Linked DNA regions of Homo sapiens: regions 2, 3, 4, 5, 6 and 7 are each linked to region 1. Evidence: promoter capture Hi-C in human tissues and cell types (Jung and others, 2019). All regions are on one chromosome and are shown on one strand. The core of a region is centred on a gene start or on the middle of the fragment in contact, and the rest is flanking DNA. Distances in the headings are between cores, read along the strand shown. Region 1 holds the start of KIF26B (kinesin family member 26B). Region 2 overlaps CNST (consortin, connexin sorting protein). Region 3 overlaps TFB2M (transcription factor B2, mitochondrial). Region 4 overlaps SMYD3 (SET and MYND domain containing 3). Region 5 overlaps SMYD3 (SET and MYND domain containing 3). Region 6 overlaps SMYD3 (SET and MYND domain containing 3). Region 7 overlaps SMYD3 (SET and MYND domain containing 3).

Region 1 (2,841 bases), core at 225-2,724:
CGAGCTCGGGGACGAGGTGCCCGAGCCGGGAGACGGGGTCCCCGAGGAGCCGAGCGCTGAGCCCGCGCCCTCAGGAGTGGGCCGGCTGCCGGCGCGCGACTCCTCGTATGCTTTCCGGTACCAGCTTTCCGGGGAGAAGGGCGCTGCGGGCTTGGTGGGCGAGCAGACTTCATTCACCTGCGGGGAAGACACGCCGGTGTCAGGGGCTGCAAGGCGGCGGGCTGCAGCGCCCAGGAGCTGGGTCATACGTGCGCCACCAAGTACCCGCTCGAACCGCCCACGGGAGTCGGTTGGGGACCTCTCCAAGCCCTGCGGCCAAATTGCCCTCCGTCTGTCTCGTTAATTGTCCTTAAGTGAGTCCCCACCGCCCAGGTGACCCCTGCGCTGGTCCCCGGTGGCCTCCTCCTGGGGTCAGGAAGGGGACTCGCTCGGGGCCGTTTCCACGGCTTCTGCAAGGCGGGGGGGATCCATAGGTTCAGCGCCCCACGCTTTTGAAGCCGGCACCTATCCCAGCAAGATCCCGGGAACAAAATCCTGGAAGACCCTATGGGGGGGGTAGGGGGAGGGCTGTGATTTCAGGATTTTTATTCATACGGGGTCCAACTCTCCGGATCCTGCAGGTAAACGAGAGGCTCTCACGGCTCCAGCTAAACGATCCGAGGTACTGCCCAGCATTCATGGGAAACCCTCCCCTTCGGCTTCACTCTGCCTAGAAGTGCAGGAATGCGGCAAAAGTTACGGGTGCGTGGAAAGGAAGGAACGAGAGGGCTGAAAAAATTCCGAGAGCGAGGCGAGCGTGCGGGCGTCCCCGCGGCCGACCCGCCTCCGCGCACTCACAACCCCGCCAGCCCCGGGGGCGCCTCTGCAGCGGGGGAGAGCTCGGGGCCGGGGCCGCACGATCCCGGGGAAAGGGGGACCTCCGCCGAGATGGGTCTGGTAACGCGTCTCCGCGTCGTACCGTCACAACTTACCCCGTATTTCTTGCCCCTGGTGGAGACCGCAAGCCTCTCTTTATTCCCAGCTACCGAATTCATGGTGGCTTTTCCAGAGGAGAGTATCTAAAGGTTCCACCGACGCTACATCCAGAAGGTCCTCCAACCCAGAAGCGTCCCCCGGCTGCAGGGGGCTGGCTCTCAGCCCTCAGGGCAAGGTTTCTTCAGCGGTGGGGTGGGAGGGAATGAAAGCAAATGGATCCCACAAGTAATAGCACCAATTTGCAGAAAGGGTTGGGGTCGCTGGTTTATTCTTCTCTTCAAAGCATGCTTTTCCTCGTCCCCTTCTGCCTCTTCCAGCCGCACGTCCTCTTGTCACGGCCACATCCACAGAACTGGCATTTTCTTCAGCCAAGTCAGTCCGTGCTCCCCCACGAGGAAAGCGAGGGATACAATCAGGGCTCGCGGCCGCTGCCGGGAAGGTGGGAGAGCCGAGCCGAGTCAGCTGTGGGAACTTGTCTCCTTCACCGAGCTTGGTAACTGAGTTCAAAGAAATTCTCCCAAAATATAAAGATCCAGACTCGGGGAGGAGCCTCGGCGTGTCGCCGAGCCAATATCCGCCGGCCCGTTTCGCCTGACAGTTGCGCGAGGGCCGGGAGAGGGGCGGCTCCGCGTGGCCCGGGAGCGGTCGGCGGTCACAGCGCGCGTGTGCGCCCGGGCGCAGCGCGGAGGAGCCTCGGGAACCTGCCGCCCTCGCCGCGCCGGCCGGGATCCATTTTATGTGGCGGCGCTCGTGCCTGACATTGCGAGGCCTGGAGCCGGGCTGGGGCTGGGGGCGGGGGATCGTCGATCTCGCCGCGTGCGGGGAAGTTCCTGGCGCGCGGCCCGGGCCCGGGGCTCTAATGAAACGCCGCTGCGCGAGCCTGGAGCCCGGGGGCCGCGCGAGCGAGCGTGGCTGGACGGAAATGCGGTGCCCCAGCCTCCCCCGCCCCCAAGTTCTTTCTCTTCCTGACAAGGCTTGCAGGTCTGTCTGTGAAACGCCGTGCAAAAGGGATTGAGTCACAAACAAGTCCACAAACATGCCGGGTCCTCCCCCCGCCCTTTGTTCTCGGAGAGCTGCCGGGCAAACCTTTTCTGGAATTGCCCTACCGACCCCGGGCCGGCCGGGGGGCCACCCTCCCCGACCGCAGCCGCAGGACTAGGGCCCTTGGTCCCCCGCCCGCCCGAGCCCCGGTCTGTGATGGACTAAGCCGCCCGGGGCTGGGACAGGTGAGCCTGGTGACCCAGCGGGCCGCTGCCGGGCAGGGGAAACTGAGGGCTTCGCCGCGCTGCACGCGGACGACTCTGGCCTGGAGAGGGGGTGTGGCGCGAGCTGGCCTTGGCCTCTCCTTGCGTGGGATCGGGCCCCTCGCCCCCCGCCGCCCGTTTCTTCCTGCGCCTGGGCCCCGCGGGGTCTCCGGAGCACCCCGTCATCGCTCCCTCTCCGATCGCCCCCCGCCCCAGTCCCCCGGCGCAGCGCCCAGGAGCGCAGGAAGCCGGCGTATGCCAGGCTCCACACGTGGCTGCTCTGGGGTGTCATTTTTCATTTCACGGGAGGACATTTCTTCTGGTGAGCCAGCAGGTCTGTTTTGTTGTGACCTTTAATTAACACCCCGCGAGACGCCTCTGGAAGGACTGGCCGGGCGCAGGGATCACGTGGGGTGTAACGGCATCTCCGCGCCCGCGGGGAGACCCAGCCCGGGGGTGGGCGAGGGCGCGAAGGACGTTCAGGGCTTTCTGGTCGCTGACTTCCTTCTGAGCTGTGGACGACGCAGGAGGGGGCAAGAAGACAAAGGTTCGGGGTTCTGGAAGCCTGGGGCCACGCCCCCACTCTGCCTTCCTCGGGGACAATTTCTTCTGTGCCTCCCGT
Region 2 (2,841 bases), core at 104-2,603, 1.5 Mb before region 1:
GGTGTGAGCCAGCATGCCCACCCCGACAGCATTATTTGACAGTCTACAGTACAGCCTGGCTGTTCTAAGATCCTTGGGGTTCACATAATGGGACTACCTGAGAGCAAAGTCGACTTAATATTAAACAATAAAAATGCCTTTGGGTGGGATCTCTTTTGCATCTTTCTATATTGAAGAAAACAATCATTCTTTGGTTGAAAAATATCTTAATTATTCATAATTTAAAAAAAATTTTAATTTCAAAAAGACCAAAAAGTCTTCTGATCTGCAGCATGATTAAAGTGTAGGAATGCCTTTTTGGAAGGTAATTTGGCAGTATCTATTAAAATTTAAAATTAATTTATCCTACAGACTGGACAATTTTGAGAGTAAAAGACAGTGTTAAGGCTGGGTGTGGTGGCTCACGCCTGTAATCCCAGCACTTTGGGAGGCTGAGGCGGGCGGATCACGAGGTCAGGAGATCGAGACCATCCTGGCTGACACGGTGAAACCCCGTCTCTACTAAAAATATAAAAAATCAGCTGGGCGTGGTGGCAGGTGCCTATAGTCTCAGCTACTCAGGAGGCTGAGGCAGGAGAATGGCATGAACCTGGGAGGCGGAGGTTGCAGTGAGCTGAGATCACACCACTGCACTCCAGCCTGGGCCACAGGGCGAGACTCCTTCTCAAAAAAAAAAAAAGAAAAAAAGACAGTGTTAACTGAATGCAATTCCGGGACAACAGGTGTAAACCAGGACGGCCTCAGGCCACCTGGGACATATAGTTTCAACATATCCCAGCAAATCCACCTTTAAGAATTAGGCTACAGTTCTGCACAACAAATATCATATATACAAGCTTGTTCACTGCAGCAGGGTTTGTTATAACAAAAGGCTGGGAATAACTTAGTGGTTCTGGTTACAATGGAACAGTTAAACAATTATGGGACATTTATATAATGGAATATGATGTAAGTATTTAATAGAATGAAGTAAATTTAATATGTTCTTTCATTGAAGGATGTCTAAGACTCATGATTTAATTTTTACTTTATTAAACTGATTTTTTTCATAATTAGCATATATTTTTACAAGAAACAAATTTTACAAAACCTAATGGATACCAAATAGACTTTATTTAGAACATTGTGCAGTAATACATGAATATATTCTCCCTGTAAAAACGCAACCCCAAAAGCATCTTAGAGTCTAAGGGACTATCCGTTTTTCTCCCGCCCAATCATATTTCCTTCCCATCCCAGAGGTAAACACTGTTAAATTTGGTGTGTGTCATTTCAGATCAAACACGTATGATTTCAGGACTTACATCAAAATAGGATTAAAAAATTGTTTGCTCTGAAATTTACATTTTAAAATAGTTGTTTTTTTTTTTGAGACAGAGTCTTGTTCTTGTTGCCCAGGCTAGAGTGCAATGGTGTGATCTTGGCTCACTGCAACCTCTGCCTCCTGGGTTCAAGCAATTCTCCTGCCTCAGCCTCCTGGGTAGCTGAGATTACAGGCACCTGCCATCATGCCTGGCTACTTTTTGTATTGTTATAGAGATGGGGTTTCACCATATTGGCCAGGCTGGTCTCAAACTCCTGACCTCAGGTGATTTGCCCGCCTTGGCCTCCCAAAGTGCTGGGATTACAGGCATAAGCCACCACGCCCAGTCTAAAATAGTTTATACCTATGTATGAAAATATGTCTTTTATATAAATGAAGAAATAGGATCATATTAATCATGCTGTATTTTTTTGGACAGTTCGGTCTTGTCTTTCTTTTTTTTTTTTTTTTAGACATAGGGTTGTGCTCTGTCACCAGGCCACACTCACTGCAGCCTCAACCTCCTGGGCTCAAGCGATCCTCCCATCTCAGCCTCCCAAGTAGCTGGGACCAAAGGTGCACACACCACCATGCCCTGCTAATTTCTGTATTTTTTGTAGAGATGGGGTCTTGCCATGTTTGCCCAGGCTGGTCTCCAACTCCTGGCCTCGAGTGATCCAGGAGGAAGACTTGGGAGGAGGCTTCCCCAAGTGCTGGGATGACAGGTGTGAGCCACTGCACCATGCCTTACGTGCTTTTCTTAACATGATTCCTACCCCCACTTCATCTATGTTAACAACCTAAAGTATTTTTCTTCATTATCATATATTCAAATCCAAACATTTAAATATAGCTTAAATATGTAAAAGCATCTATGCTGTTTGTTTTATTTATATGTCCTAGACCTGTCTGAGCTGTACTGTCCGATGTGAGCCACAGGTGGCTGTTGGGCACTTGACATGTAGCTGGTCCAAACTGAGCGGCGATGAACACAGATTCTGAATACTTAGTGTGAAAAAAAGGATGTAAAATGTCTCACTAGTAATTTTTTCATATAGATCACATTTTGAAATAATTTTTATGTACTGGGTTAAATAAAATACATTCTTAAAATTCTGGCCAGGTGCGGTGGCTCACGCCTGTAATCCCAGCACTTTGGGAGGCCGAGGCAGGCAGATCACCTGAGGTCAGGAGTTCGAGACCAGCCTGGCCAACATGGTGAAACCCCCTGTCTCTACTAAAAGTACAAAAATTAGCCAGGCGTCGGGGAACATGCCTGTAATCCCAGCTACCTGGGAGGCTGAGGCAGAAGAATCGCTTGAACTCGGGAGGCGGAGGTTGCAGCGAGCCAAGATCGCACCACTGCACTCCAGCCGGGCGACAGAGTGAGATCCCGTCTCAAAAAAAATAAAATCAAATAAAAAATAAAATTCATCTCACCTGTTTCTTTTCACTTTAACATGGCTACTACAAAGCTGAAAATCATACATGTGCCTCACATTAATTTCCAGGGGATAGCATTGGCTTACAGAAGGAAG
Region 3 (2,841 bases), core at 253-2,752, 1.4 Mb before region 1:
GCTTGTCTTCAGTGGTTCTGTTCCTTAACCAGAGTAGGGATAGATAATTATACCACCCTGGTTCCCTTGCTCTGGATCAAATTTTGTTTTTACCCAAAGCTTTGTAAAAATAATAGCTTGTAAGTAACACTACTTGCTTTATGTCTATATAAGTGAAAAACATTTTTTTGTTGTTGTTAGAGACAGGGTCTCGCTGTGTTGTCCAGGCTGAAGTGTAGTGGCACAGTCTCAGCTCACTGCAGCCTTGTCCTCCCAGGCTCAAGTGATCCTCCCACCTCAGCCTCCTGAGTAGCTGGGACTACAAGCATGCACCACCACGCCCGGCTAATTTTTATATTTGTAAAAATATAAAATTTTTATATTTATATTTTGTGTTTATAAATTGTATGCCAATTTTTGTAGAGATGGGGTTTTGCCACCTTGCCCAGGCTGGTCTCAAATTCCTGGCCTCAAGCAATCCACCTTGCTTGGCCTCCCAAAGTGCTGGGGTTACAGGCATGAGCCACTGCACCTGGCCATCCATGTAATTTGTATGTAGGGCTGATGCACACACCTCTGTAAGTAGTGCTGGGGTTACAGGCGGGAGCCACCATGCCTGGCCATCCATGTAATTTGTGTGTAGGCCTGATGCCCACACTTCTGTAAGTACAGCTCAGGTTACCAGCATGAGCCACTGCGCCTGGCCATCTATGTAATTTGTATGTAGGGATGATGCATACATCTCTGTAAGTAGTGTTGGGGTTACAGGCATGAGCTCCCGCGCCCAGCCATCTGTGTAATTTGTACATAAATCCATGTAATTTGTATGTAGGGCTGATGCATACGTCCCTGTAAGTTGTGCATTATGCCTTGTAATCAGCAGCCCATAGTCATTCAAAGTCTCGCCAGAGGATGGGTAAAATGTTAAAATAATTATTTTAACAAATTTGATCATTTAATATTTAACTCTGAATGAGCTGTTGACTAGACAATATTTATCTAAAAATAAATGTTAAAAGTGGCAATAGCCTGGGTGCAGTGGTTCATGCCTGTAATCCGAGCATTTTTGTGAGGCCAAGGTGGGAGGATCACTTGAGGAGGCCGGGGATTGGAGGCTGTAGTGAGCCATAAACTCACCACTGCATTGCAGTGTGGGACACAGAGCAAGCTGACCTTGTCTCTAAAAAAAAAAAAAAAAAAAAAATTGGGAGGCAGAGAGCGCCAACAAGACTTTGAGATGAGCCTGGGTGACAGAGCAAGACTCTATCTCTAAAAAAAAAAAAAAAAAAAAGTGGTAATAGACTAGTAAAAGGCAATAGACTAATAAAAGGCAATCTATTATTTTTCATCTTGCCACCTTGTGGCTATTTTGAATGAAAATATCAAGAAAATAGGGAAATAAGGAATAAATGTTGTAAATCATAGTGCAAAATATTAAAAATGCTCCTGGTAATCTCAGTGGACTAGAAACATGTTACCAAGATTCTATTCAATATCAAAAAGTATTGGAATTGAACAGACAGAGAGTCTCACTCTGTTGCCCAGTCTGGAGTACAGTGGCACAATCATAGCTCACTGCAACCACAAACCCCTTGCTCAAGTGATCCTGCCTCAGCCTCTTCCCTGAGTAGCTGGGACTACTATGCCCACCACTATGCCCAGCTAACTTTTTACGATTTTTGTAGAGATGGGGTCTCACTATGTTGCTCAGGATAGTCTTGAACTCTTGGGCTCAAATGATCCTCCCACCTAGCCCCCCAAAGTGCTGGGATAACAGGTAGGAGCCACCGCACCCAGCCCAAAATATTTTTTTACAATTGTTGTTGTTGGAGGCTTATTGATGGTTTGTTGCTAAGCTGATACACAGTTATGTACCTCATATTATGGTATATAATATACCTCATTGATTATATATTGTATATATATTATATAATATACCTTATATATATAATACCTCATAATGAGGCGTGTTCGTTATACCTCGTTTCAGTCAGTAGTGGACCAAATGTACAATAGTGGTCCCATAAGATTATAAAGATGCTGTATCTTTTACTGTATCTTTTCTATTACTTACCATTGTGTTACAGTTGCCTACAGTATTCAGTACAGTAACATGCTGTGCAGGTTTGTATCCTTGGAGCAATAGGCTATGCCATATATCCTAAGTCTGTAATAGGCTATATCACATAGGTTTGGGTTAAGTACTCTGTAAGATGTTCAAGCAACAATGAAATCACCTAACAGTGCATTTCTCAGGACATACCTCCATCATTAAGCAATGCATGACTGTATAAGGAAGTTTGCGGCTTTATAATGTATTTACCAATGATGGTTACATCAAAATGTGAAAAATGATTCCCTCTTTGTAAACTGCCAAACAGCAACTTCTGCTGTTTATAGTTACTGAACTTTGACATGAACCAAAAGAAGTTAAGAATATTTTTTGCAGAAAGGAAAAGGATGAAAGAGGTAGGCATAATAATTTTTTCAAACGGCAGTGATTAAACTAGAATTCGGTGTAAAAATTGATTAGAGTATGTGAAAGCCTAAACCTGCTATTAATATTTTCATTATAGGTTAGCTATGAAACTTTAGAAATAAGCATAAAGTTACTGGAAGCTCTTAAACTAAATAAGATTGCTTATATATAATAAGTTAGGCTTTTTTTTTTCTTCTTATTTCAATAGCCTTAGGAATACAAGTGATTTTTTTGGTTTCATGGATGGATTGTTGAAGTCTGGGCTTTTAGTGTACCCATGCCCAAATAGTGTACATTGTACCCAGTAGGTAGCTTTTTATCCTTCACCCTCCTCCCATCCTTCACCCTCCTCCCATCCTCTTCCCTGCTGATTCTCCCGTGTC
Region 4 (2,841 bases), core at 91-2,590, 1.3 Mb before region 1:
TGTACAGAGGCTTAATGACTGAAGGCACAGTCTTGTTGGCCAGGCTGGAGTACAGTGGTATGATCATAGTTCACTGTAGCCTCCAACTCCTTGGCTTAGGTGATCCTCCTGCCTTAGCCTCCTAAGTACCTAGGACTCCAGGCATGTACCACCATGCCCGGCTAATTTTTAAAGTTTTTCCAGTGGTAATGTCTTGCTTTGTTGTCTAGTCTGGTCTTAAACTCCTGACCCCAAGCAACCCTTCCACCTCAGCCTCCCAAAATGTTGAATTACAGACATGAGCCACCACACCCAGCCCTGTTAATTTTTATTTGTTATTATTATTGTTATTAATTTTTTTTCCTTTTTTTGGAGACAGAGTCTCACTCTGTCACCCAGGCTGGAGTGCAGTGGTGTGATCTTGGCCCACTGCAACCTCTGCCTCCTGGGTTCAAGTGATTCTCCTGCCTCAGCCTGTCAAGTAGCTGGGATTACAGGCATGTGCCACCATACCTGGCTAATTTTTGTATATTTTGTGGAGATGGGGTTTCACCATGTTGCCCAGGCTGGTCTTGAACTCCTGAGCCCAAGCGATTTGCCCGCCTCAACCTCCCAGAGTTCTGGGATTACAGATGTGAGCTACCATGTCTGAACTGTAAATGTTTTTAAAAAGGCATATTGAATTTTGTCAAATGCCTTTTTCTGCATCTATAGAAATGATCATATATTTTTTGTTTTTCATTCTGTTAATGTGATGTATCATGTTTACTGATTTACTTATGTTAAACCATCTTTGCGTCCCTGGGATGAATCCCACTCCATCATGGTGAATTATCTTTTTTTTTTTTTTTTAAGACAGAGTCTTGTTCTGTTGCCCAGGCTGGAGTGCAGTGGTGAGATCATGGCTCACTGCAACTTCCACCTCCTGGGCTTAAGTGATCCTCCCAACCCAGCCTTCTGAGTAGTTGGGACTACAGGCATGTGCCACCACGCCCGCCTAATTTTTGTAATTTTAGTAGAAACGGGGTTTCGCCATGTTGCCCAGGCTGGTCGTGAACTCCTGGGCTCAAGCGATCTGCCCACCTTGGCCTCTGCAAGTACTGGTGAGTGCTCTTTTTGATGTGCTGCTGAATTTGGTTTACAAATATTTTGTTGAGGATTTTTGCCTCTATGTTAATCAGGGATATTTGTCTGTAATTTTCTTCTTTTATTGTGTCTGTCTGGTTTTGCTGTCAGAATAATGCTGGCTTTTTTGAATGAGTTTGGAAGTATTCCCTCCTCTTCCATTTTTTGGAATAGTTTGAGAAGAATTAGTACTAGTTCTTTAATTGCTTTTTAGAGTTCAGCAGTGAAGCTGTCAGGTCCTGGGCTTTGCTTTGATGGGAGACTTTTATCTTGGATTGTATGTGTTAGGAATTTATCTCTTTTTTTATGTTATTGAGTTGGTTGACCTATAGTTGTTCATAATATTACGATCCTTAGTATTTCCATTGTAATAGCTCCTTTTCCATCTCTGATTTTCTTTATTCGAGTCTTCCCTCTTTTTGTCTAGCTAAAGGTTTGTCAATTTTGTGTTTTTTAAAAAACCAGCTCTTTGTTTCATTGATCTTTTGTATTGTTTTTCTAGCCTCCATTTCATTTATTTCTGCTCTTATATTTTTATTATTTCCCTTATATTTATGTTGGGTAGTTCAAGCAAAACAGGTAGCATCCTAAAGTATGTGAAATCTAATTCTGTCAAATGATGTGTCTCTCCTGTCCTAAGTAATAGAGTCACAGCAACTTGCCATTGTTTTATTGGTAAGTGTATTTTATTTTTAAATTTTATTTATTTATTTTTTTTGAGATGGAGTCTCACTCTGTCGCCAAGGCTGGAGTGCAGTGATGTGATCTCAGCCCACTCCAACCTCCACCTCCTGGGCTCAAGTGATTCTCCTACCTCAGCCTCCTAAGTAGCTGCGATTACAGGCACACGCCCCCATTCCCGGCTAATTTTTTTGTCTTTTTAGTAGAGATGAGGTTTTGCCATGATGGCCAGACTGATTTTGAACTCCTGACCTCAAGTGATCCACCTGCCTTGGCCTCCCAAAGTGCTGGGATTACAGGCGTGAGCCACTGCGCCCAGCATTTTTAAAAAAAAAATTTTAAAAATTATTATTCTTTTTGAGACAGGGCCTCACTCTGTTGCCCAGGCTGGAGTGCAGTGGCATGATCATGGCTCACTGGAGCCTTGATTTCCCGGGCTCAAGTGATCCTCCCCCATCAGCCTCCTGAGTAGCTGGGGCTATAGGCATGTGCCACCATGCCCAGCTCATTTTTAGTTTTAAAATTTTTATTTTAGGTTCAGGGATACGTGTGCAGGTTTTTTATATAGGTAAACTCATGTGATGTGGGTTTGTTGTATAGATTATTTTGTCATCCACATATTAAGTCTAGTATCCAACAGTTATATTTCCTGATCCTCTCCCTCCTTCCAACCTCCACCCTCAAGGAGGCCCCAGTGTCTGTTGTCCCTCTTTATGTGTCCATGTGTTCTCATCATTTAGCTCCCCCTTTAAGCAAGAACCTGCAGTATTTGGTTTTCTTTTCCTGTGTTAGTTTGCTAAGGATGATGGCCTCCAGCTCCATCCATGTTCCTGCTGAGGACATGATTTTGTTCTTTTTATGGCCGCATGCATAGTATTCCATGGTGTATAGGTACATTTTCTTTATGCATTCTACCATTGATGGGCATTTCAGCTTTTGCTATTGTGAATAGTGCTGCAGTAAATATACATGTGCATGTGTCTTTAGGTTAGAATGATTTATATTCTCTTGGGCATATACCAAGTAATGGGATTGCTGGTCAAATGATAGTTCTGT
Region 5 (2,841 bases), core at 342-2,841, 1.3 Mb before region 1:
CAGTGGCACAATCTCAGCTCACTGCAACCTCCACCTCCTGGGTTCAAGTGATTCTTCTGCCTCACCCTCCCGAGTAGCTGGGACTACAGGCATGTGCGACCACACCTGGCTAATTTTTATATTTTTAATAGAGACGGGGTTTCACCGTGTTAGCCAGGATGGAGAAGTCTCGATCTCCTGACCTCGTGATCCCCCTGCCTCGGCCTCCCGAAATTCTGGGATTACAGGCATGAGCCACAGCTCAAGTCGTGACAGACTTTTTAGCTGAAAACAGTGGTCCCCAACCTTTTTGGCACCAGGGACTGGTTTTGCGGAAGATAGTTTTTCCAGGGATATAGAGTGAGGGGGGCGGATGGTTTCTAGATGAAACTATTCCACCTTGGATCATCAGGTATTAGATTCTCATAAGGAGCATGCAACTTAGATCCCTGCCATGTGCAGTTCACAATAGGGTTAGTGGTCCTATGAGAATCCAGTGCCACCACTGACTGTGATACGGGAGTGCTGGGAAGGGAAGAGTGTGGTCCCTTTAAATGATGAGGAAGGGGGTAAGGGAAGTGCTGGGTAGAGGAGGGCATGGTCCCTGGCTAGGGCGCTACCCCCATCGACCTAGGTGAGGACAAGCACTTCTGCCTTTGCGCCCAAATGTTGCATTTTCCAAGACTACCCTGGTCTACCACGCCCCCATCCTGGGCCTATAAAAACCCAAGACCCTAGCAAGGCACAGACAGAAGCAGCTGGAGGGTGAGAGGAACACATTGGTGGAAGAAGACAAGTGGCCGGACATCGGGAGGACGTGGAGGGTGTCACACGTGTCCATGTGAAGAGACCACCAAACAGGCTTTGTGTGAGCAATAAAGCTTTTTAATCACCTGGGTGCAGGCGGGCTAAGTCTGAAAAGAGAGTCAGCAAAGGGTGGTGGGATTATCATTAGTTCTTATAGGTTTATCTTATAGGTTTATCCCTATAAGAACTTATCTATAGTTCTTATAGAGATAGGCGGTGGAGTTAGGAGCAATTTTTGCTAGTGGGGGGTGGATCTTACAAAGTACATTCTCAAGTGTGGGGAGGATATTACAAAGGATATTACATTCTCAAGGGCGGAGGAATATCACAAAGTCCATTATCGCAAGGGCGGGGAGGGGGTATTGTCACAAAGTCAATTGATCACTTAGGGTGGGGAGGGAACAAATCACAATGGTGCAATGTCATCGGTTAAGGCAGGAACTGGCTATTTTCAGTTGTTTTGTAGTTCTTCAGTTGCTTCAGGCCATCTGGATGTATACGTGCAGGTCACGGGGGATATGATGGCTTACCTTGGGCTCAGAGGCCTGACAAAGGGGAGCACGCAGGCAGAAGAGCACAGCAACAGATGCCAGCACGCTGGGAGGCCGTCGGCCAGCAGAACGACGTGGAGTTTGGCTGGGACGGTTGGAGGAGAGCCCAGGTCACCGAGCGCCCGACTCCGGGAGAAAACCATTTCCCTTCTGGCTCCCCCATCTGCTGAGAGCTACTTTACTCAATAAAACCTTGCACTTATTCTCCAAGCCTACATGTGATCTGATTCTTCCAGTTCACCAAAGCAAGAAACCCCAGGATATAGAAATCCCTTTGTCCTTGTGATAAGGAAGGGGGTCTAATTGAGCTGACTAACACAAGCTGCCTACAGACGGCTAGATTAAAAGAGCACCTTGTAACACATGCCCACTGGGGCTTCAGGAGCTGTAAACATACACCTCTAGACACTGCCATGGGGTCCGAGCCCCACAACGTGCCCATCTGTATGCTCCCCCTAGAGGTTTGAGCAGCAGGGCGCTGAAGAAGCAAGCCACTCCCTCTGTGGCAGAGGGGGACAAGGGAACCTTTACTCTACTTTCTCTTCATGTTTCTTATAAGTGGAACCATATAATATTTGTCGGTTTATCCGTCTTGTAGCATGTGGCAGAATGTCTGTTGCTTTTTGGTCTTAGAGAGTATAGGTGTGAAGATAATTTTTCCTCCCCCTCTGGCTCTGAAATTTGAAAGTGCTGAAATGACCTGACATTAGACTGATTAACAGGGGAAGAGGCATATAAATGTATTAATGTGCAGAAGCACAGGGGCCACACAGTATATGAGACTCAGAGAACTGAAACCACCTTGCTAAGGTTATGATGGTTAGAGAAATCCAACACAGCTGACTTTATCTTGCTTCTGACCCCAGAAGCTGACTATCTGCTCATTCCTGGGTGTAGGTCAAGCTAACTAAAAAGGAGTTTAGTTTACAGTTTAACTTTAAAGCAAGGATGATAATAGTCCCTTCCTGAAACTGGTCCCCTTCTTGCTTGGGAACTGAAACTGCATTTGTAAAACTAATGAAAGTCAATAAGATTAGAATTATGATAAGGGCCTGAATTCTGCTAAGTAATAAGCACAGTGAAGAAGAGATAACCAGCCATTGTTCCCTAGCTTGGTTACTGCTGGAGGTCACAAGATTTGAGATAACATCACCACTGTAAACCCTAAGATGGGTTTTTGAGATATTTTTCAGACCTTTGCATTCTGGTAAACTGACTGATGCCATCTGGACCATGACTCATACCAAGGAACAGACTCAACTCGTCCTGTGACCCCCACCTAGAAACTGACTCAGCACGTGAAGACAGTTCCAACACTCCAGTGATTTCATCTCCAACCAATCAGTAGCATACATTCCCTGGCCCTCAGCTTGCCAAATTATCCTTAAAAACCCTGGGCTCCAAGCTTTCGAGGAGGTGGATTTGAGAGATACCTCCCCTCCTTCTGCTCAGCTGCCTTGCAGTAATTAAACTCTTTCTCTGCTGCAACACCCCTACTGTTCTC
Region 6 (2,841 bases), core at 216-2,715, 1.2 Mb before region 1:
GTAAAAAGATTTCTTTGTAAGCCTTTTCTATGGTATGCTTGTATTCGTAACCCTTATGGTAAGATGTGATAGGTGAAGCTGAATGATAAATTTTAACAGTTAATGTTTTAAAAAGAAAAGGAATGGGCTGATATGTGGTACCATATTACAGACCAATTTTAAGTGGTATGATTGCTTTCTCTATTTATGCCTAAATGATCTGATTTGGCTTTTCATGGAAATAATGAACATATTTTTGCTGAAGCAAATGAGAAAATAAGTATGTTTTCAGGCAATGATCTAGGAATAAGTTTAAGAAACATTTTGTCTAGTTTCTAGTTATTGTTGAGAAAAGGAGCTCTATATCAATTATGTTAAGGACCTAAAGTTGTTTTAACAGGAATTTTCCAAAATTTGGATGTTTAATTCCAAATGCTGTCATCTAACTGATCGGTTGTTCATTATCTGGTGTACGTTTTGTACTTATCTCACCCTGGTAAGCTATCAGGAGGCTGAGCTGCTCAAATATTTAGGTTTTAACAGAGGGGTTATGGATGATCTCTTGTAATTAAAATGAGCATTGATTAAAATCTGCTCTTAAGGTCTTTTGCCTCAAATTATCTCTGCCTTGTTTTGCTGAGTGTGAGCCCTGTTCAGCTGGACACTGAGGCATTTGAACAGAGCCTAAGGTACTTTCTGATAGACCCACTGGCACTATGTTATCCGTTCCTGCCTACACGCTCTGTCCATGAGAGCATCTGACAGGTTTCTCAACTTCTATAATCAAAGGAAAACTAACGCCAAAGTTATGGTTCTCCCTTCTATCAGTAAAAAACCAAAAAAGTTAACATTCTTGTTTCTTGTGAGTGCAAATGAATGTAAATTTGTTAGCTTAACCCACTCACATACAAAGACCAGGTGAAAAAAAATATATAGATATATCTGAGTTAGTGAATACCAACCTAACTCTCTAAAGGGTGACAATAACAAGCATGGGAAACTGTGTTAAATAATTTATACACATTTCTTTAGTGCATAGACTTTTAGAACTTTTAGGATGCTAAGTATATTTTGAATCTCTAAGTAGGGTCAACATGATATTGTGTTTTTAAAACTTACTTGACAATTGTACCATGTATATTTTAGGCCTCTTACACACATTGGTAATTGCTAATTGCTAGTCAAGGACTAGCCCCCTGAGCAACAGAAGCTTGTTCTTTCACTGAGTTGTATTTTAATATTATGCCTTTCAGTGAGTACTGATATTAGAAGTCATATGAAAGGCCATTATAGTTGTGAACTGTTGTTAAGGACATTGTTCAGTGTGTTGATTAGCATTCTTGGAATAAATCCCTCCTGTGATTTAATACTTGGTGAAACTGTATGTTTTTACTTTCTGTCAGTTGAGGATTATATAAGCCATTATGCCTTCTTTTTTGCCTTGCTTGTAAGGCATCTCAAATAAATGTGACGTACAAATACTCAAATGTAATGCAGAAATTATTCAGCTCTCATGTTTAGCATGCTAAGAATTTTTACTCTCTCTTTTTGTATTTGGGCAGTTTGATAGTTAGATATCAGCTTTTGAGCCTTTATTTGTAATAGAGGGATAATACCTACCATTTGGATTGTTACGAAAATCAAGTGAAACGTGCTTCGTTATTTGCTTAGCCATGTATCTAGTACCTTGTAGAATGCTAAGTAAATGCTAGCGTGCTTTCCTTTTTCCCCCTTCCATAATTTTAATATGTTCTGTTTCTGGTTTTGCAGTCTTATTTCATACACATCTTTACTTTGAATCAGCTCAGTCTTGTTTAGAAGTGAGTGAAGTGTAAATGCTAAAACAAAAATTATGAACAGCACATTGATTTTGTAGACCCAGAAATTGAGGAGCAGATTTATAATTTTTGAAATAAGAATGAGTAAGTGGTATCAGGCATTTCAGTAATGGAAATTCCAATTTTCAGAATATAACACGAGAGACATTTGATTGAGGCTTCTTCTACTCACCAGGGCTAAATATTAGATGATCTGGATTTTATTTCCATATGAAAGTGATTCCGTGTGAAAGGAGCCGTCGCCTTTCTGATCCAAGGCTCAAGGATAGTGTCCTTCCCTTTAGTCCATTCATCTGTACATTGGCAACTGACTCAATGGTCTCTTTAGCCACATCAACACATGGCTAGGATCATGGCTTAGGTGACCATATAATTTGTCATCAAAACCAGAACTTTTCAGAGTGAAAAGGGGCACTATTAATATTTAAGCCAGGACATAGATACAAACCTAGACACATCCAGGACAAACTGGACATTTAATGATTTTAGCTAATAGTTCTTTTTATGTTGCTTTTAAAACAAAGAGATTTTATATTTGGGGGTGTGTTAGCCCTCCTGATATTTCTGTAGCAGCACAGAAATTCAGAAGGCTGTCATCCCTATTTTGAGTCTTCTGAACCACGTTTTATTTTCTAATTTGGAGTGACATTTTCCTTTTGTATTCAAAATGACTATTGTTGAATCCTGTTTAATCAGTTCCAAGACCATCTTATACATTATTAAGTAAGCTGTAATGGCTCTTTCTTTGGACTCCACTAGCCAGGTAATAACCAGGGGACAAATGAAAGCACAGAGGTGAAGCTGAGGCTTTTAATGTCCTTGCATAGTAATTGCATATTTGGCAAAGACTCATCCTGGATTATTTTCAGATTTAGAATATTGCTTTTATTTTCTATTGTGCAGTTACATTTGGACTATTAAAATTTAATGTTTATGACTCTTGATGTTCAAAACCAGTATAAATGAAAGTTAAATTTTAGGTCACCTATGTTCTCCCCACTCTTGTTTTAATAGAAAAAAGCTT
Region 7 (2,841 bases), core at 159-2,658, 1.0 Mb before region 1:
AAAGTCTACAGTAGAGTACAGTGAGTGTTCTAGGCCTGTGTAGCCTAAGCGTACAGTGTGGATAGTCTGCAGTAGAGAACAGTGAGTGTTCTAGGCCTGTGTAGCCTAAGTGTGTAGTGTTGATAAAGTCTACAGTAGAGTACAGTGAGTGTTCTAGGCCTGTGTAGCCTAAGTGTGTAGTGTTGATAAAGTCTACAGTAGAGTACAGTGAGTGTTCTAGGCCTGTGTAGCCTAAGTGTGCAGTGTTGATAAAGTCTACAGTAGAGAACAGTGAGTGTTCTAGGCCTGTGTAGCCTAAGCATACAGTGTGGATAGTCTGCAGTAGAGAACAGTGAGTGTTCTAGGCCTGTGTAGCCTAAGTGTGTAGTGTTGATAAAGTCTACAGTACAGTGAGTGTTCTAGGCCTGTGTAGCCTAAGTGTGCAGTGTTGATAAAGTCTACAGTAGAGTACAGTGAGTGTTCTAGGCCTGTGTAGCCTAAGCGTACAGTGTGGATAGTCTGCAGTAGAGAACAGTGAGTGTTCTAGGCCTGTGTAGCCTAAGTGTGTGGTGTTGATAAAGTCTACAGTAGAGAACAGTGAGTGTTCTAGGCCTGTGTAGCCTAAGCGTGCAGTGTGGATAGTCTACAGTAGAGTACAGTGAGTGTTCTAGGCCTTCACATTCACCTGCCACTCGCTCATTCACGGAGAGCAACTTGTAGTCCTGCAAGCTCCATTCATGGTCAGTGCTCTACATAGGTATACCATTTTTATCTTTCATAACTTTCTTTTCCTTCATGAGATAAAGTCATAGTCTGTCACCCAGGATGGAATGCAGTGATGTGATCTTGGCTCACTGTAGCCTCGAACTCCTGGGCTCAAGCAATTCTCTTGCCTCAGCCTGCTGAGTAGCTATGATTACAGATGTTTGCCAACATGCTGGGTTAATTTTTTAAGTTTTTCTAGAGTTGAGGTCTTGCTATGTTGCCCAGTCTGGTCTCAAACTCCCGGCCTCAAGCAATTCCCCCACCTTGGCCTCCCAAAGCATTGGAATCATAGGCATGAGCCACCATGCCCAACCTTATACTGTATTTTTATTGTACCTCTTCTATGTTTAGATAAGTGTAGATACATAAATACCTACCATTGTATTACAACTGCCTATAGTATTCAGTACAAGAACATACTGTACAGGTTTGTAGCCTAGGAGCAATAGGCAATATCATGTAGCCCAGGTGTGTAGTAGACTGTCTCATCTAGGTTTGCGTTAGTGTGTCTATGATGTTGACACAAGGACAAAATCACCTAACAATGAATTTCTTGGCAGGTGTCTCTGTTAAGAAGACATGACTCCAGTACTCTCAGGTGTAAGCTCTTTTCCAGTGATGACACCGGCACTCCCTACCCCCATCCCTCTGGAAAAAGAATGATCTAAAATGTTATGATTTAAAGCAAAAGGATATGCAAAGGTGAATCAGAGAAATTCAAAGAAAGGAGGGATTATATTAATGTCATATAAAAATAATTTAAGATAAAAAACAATTGATAGGATAAACTTGATATCTTTTATAAAAGAAATATACCTTTTTTTCAGTTATCTTTGAAACGTTTACCAAAATCAATTCTTGATTGTACACAGACAGCATTGGTTCTACCTCACCCAATGCGTGGGAGCACAGAAACTCTATTAGACCAAAGTAGAAATCAAAACCACTTAGAAAACTAGAATAGAGAACCATAACATGTACTGAAAGAAACAAAGTATACTCAGAAATTGATAATCTGAAAGTAGTAATTTGTAGACTATGAAACCATAGAAAATAATCTTCTGGTTTAAAAAAAATTAGAGGGTTGTTTGAAAAATAACATGAATTTTGCATATAAAAAAACTGAAAGGTTTTGCAAAATACAGTATTTAGCGGTCACAAACAGTGCAGGAAAATAAGAAGTCTACGAGCTTTAAGAAATGTAGAAGATTACTTGGAAAGACATAGTATGTTTGTAGATGATAAGACTGAGCATTATAACGTGTCAGTCTTTCTCGACTACGTTTCTTGAAAGCAGTTTTCCAGGTAATTTTTTAGTGTTCATTTGGAAGAATGAAAGGTAAATAGTGAAATGCCATTTGACAAAAATGAACAAGAAATGTTAATGCCCAAATCTTAGGGAGAGTTTAAGACAGGCAGTCTTGTATTACTACCGTTTTTGTGTAAATTGATTTATATTTTGAGACAAGCAAATTTAGAAATATTTATCGAGTCAAAAATTACTCATAGTAGAATTCCTAAGTAGGCCAATAAAAAAAGAAAAATTAAAATTAAGAAAAAATTATTCATAGCAATCCTTGTTTGGTGAAAGCAGTAATTATACTTTTTTTTAATAGCAAAAAAAAAAAAAAGTAATGAGTGTGGGAGTGGTTAAATGAATTATAAATAAATGTAAAGGGAAGCTACATGCAACCATGAGGCATATTTAGTAATATGGAAACTAACCATGCTGCAGTATTAGTTGGATTATATTTCATACATAATATATATCACACTATTCTGATATTTTTAATTGAGCATATTTCTAGGAGGGGGAGAAAATCATTGTGTTAAATTCTTCATTTTAGGTTAATGAAAAATATATTATTTAATTATTGTTTTTGATAGTGAGGAAATAACACCCAAATTATTTTTTCTTAAGTTGTACTATGTCACATTCTCTTTTTTCCTTATTCTGTGTTTTCTGTATTTTCTATAATGATCAAAAACCAAGAACGATGCAGACTCAGAATTAAACTGTAACACATTCTAGTTTTGTTATCAAAACTTGAAAATCAAAAATATTTCCATAATCTGTGAAAAATGAGTTTATAGGTA

Evidence for each region. Contacts are between HindIII fragments. The study calls those that stand out against the background at their distance.
Region 2: a fragment that was not itself captured here is called in contact with the fragment with the promoter of KIF26B in region 1 in 1 of the 25 tissues and cell types used here (lymphoblastoid cells).
Region 3: a fragment that was not itself captured here is called in contact with the fragment with the promoter of KIF26B in region 1 in 1 of the 25 tissues and cell types used here (hippocampus).
Region 4: a contact is called between a fragment that was not itself captured here and the fragment with the promoter of KIF26B in region 1, in 1 of the 25 tissues and cell types used here (dorsolateral prefrontal cortex).
Region 5: a contact is called between a fragment that was not itself captured here and the fragment with the promoter of KIF26B in region 1, in 1 of the 25 tissues and cell types used here (dorsolateral prefrontal cortex).
Region 6: a contact is called between a fragment that was not itself captured here and the fragment with the promoter of KIF26B in region 1, in 1 of the 25 tissues and cell types used here (lymphoblastoid cells).
Region 7: a fragment that was not itself captured here is called in contact with the fragment with the promoter of KIF26B in region 1 in 1 of the 25 tissues and cell types used here (IMR-90 fibroblasts).

What each region holds. Positions count from the first base shown.
Region 1 is chr1:245,153,618-245,156,458 of GRCh38, reverse strand. KIF26B (kinesin family member 26B) reads right to left here and starts at 1,474. Exons shown (of 15, transcript NM_018012.4): 1 at 972-1,474; 2 at 1-177. The coding sequence starts at 1,034. RefSeq lists silencers at 1-65, 1,933-2,132 and enhancers at 1,987-2,662, 2,663-2,841. The HindIII fragment of the contact is 11,465 bases long and covers 1-2,841 here.
Region 2 is chr1:246,662,270-246,665,110 of GRCh38, reverse strand. All of the region lies in intron 10 of CNST (consortin, connexin sorting protein), which reads right to left. Among named protein-coding and RNA genes, the nearest start is that of SCCPDH, 61 kb to the left of the region's middle. The HindIII fragment of the contact is 3,484 bases long and covers 1-2,841 here.
Region 3 is chr1:246,541,328-246,544,168 of GRCh38, reverse strand. The region is part of intron 7 of TFB2M (transcription factor B2, mitochondrial); the gene reads left to right. Among named protein-coding and RNA genes, the nearest start is that of LINC01743, 18 kb to the right of the region's middle. The HindIII fragment of the contact is 6,053 bases long and covers 1-2,841 here.
Region 4 is chr1:246,466,151-246,468,991 of GRCh38, reverse strand. The region is part of intron 1 of SMYD3 (SET and MYND domain containing 3); the gene reads left to right. Among named protein-coding and RNA genes, the nearest start is that of SMYD3, 40 kb to the left of the region's middle. The HindIII fragment of the contact is 8,621 bases long and covers 1-2,841 here.
Region 5 is chr1:246,417,322-246,420,162 of GRCh38, reverse strand. All of the region lies in intron 1 of SMYD3 (SET and MYND domain containing 3), which reads left to right. Among named protein-coding and RNA genes, the nearest start is that of SMYD3, 89 kb to the left of the region's middle. RefSeq lists an enhancer at 2,422-2,716. The HindIII fragment of the contact is 3,336 bases long and covers 1-2,841 here.
Region 6 is chr1:246,335,465-246,338,305 of GRCh38, reverse strand. It overlaps SMYD3 (SET and MYND domain containing 3), which reads left to right. Exons shown (of 12, transcript NM_001167740.2): 3 at 2,832-2,841. Among named protein-coding and RNA genes, the nearest start is that of SMYD3-IT1, 14 kb to the right of the region's middle. The HindIII fragment of the contact is 6,069 bases long and covers 1-2,841 here.
Region 7 is chr1:246,169,946-246,172,786 of GRCh38, reverse strand. All of the region lies in intron 5 of SMYD3 (SET and MYND domain containing 3), which reads left to right. Among named protein-coding and RNA genes, the nearest start is that of SMYD3-AS1, 63 kb to the right of the region's middle. RefSeq lists a silencer at 1,695-1,754 and a cis regulatory region at 1,894-2,067. The HindIII fragment of the contact is 4,220 bases long and covers 1-2,841 here.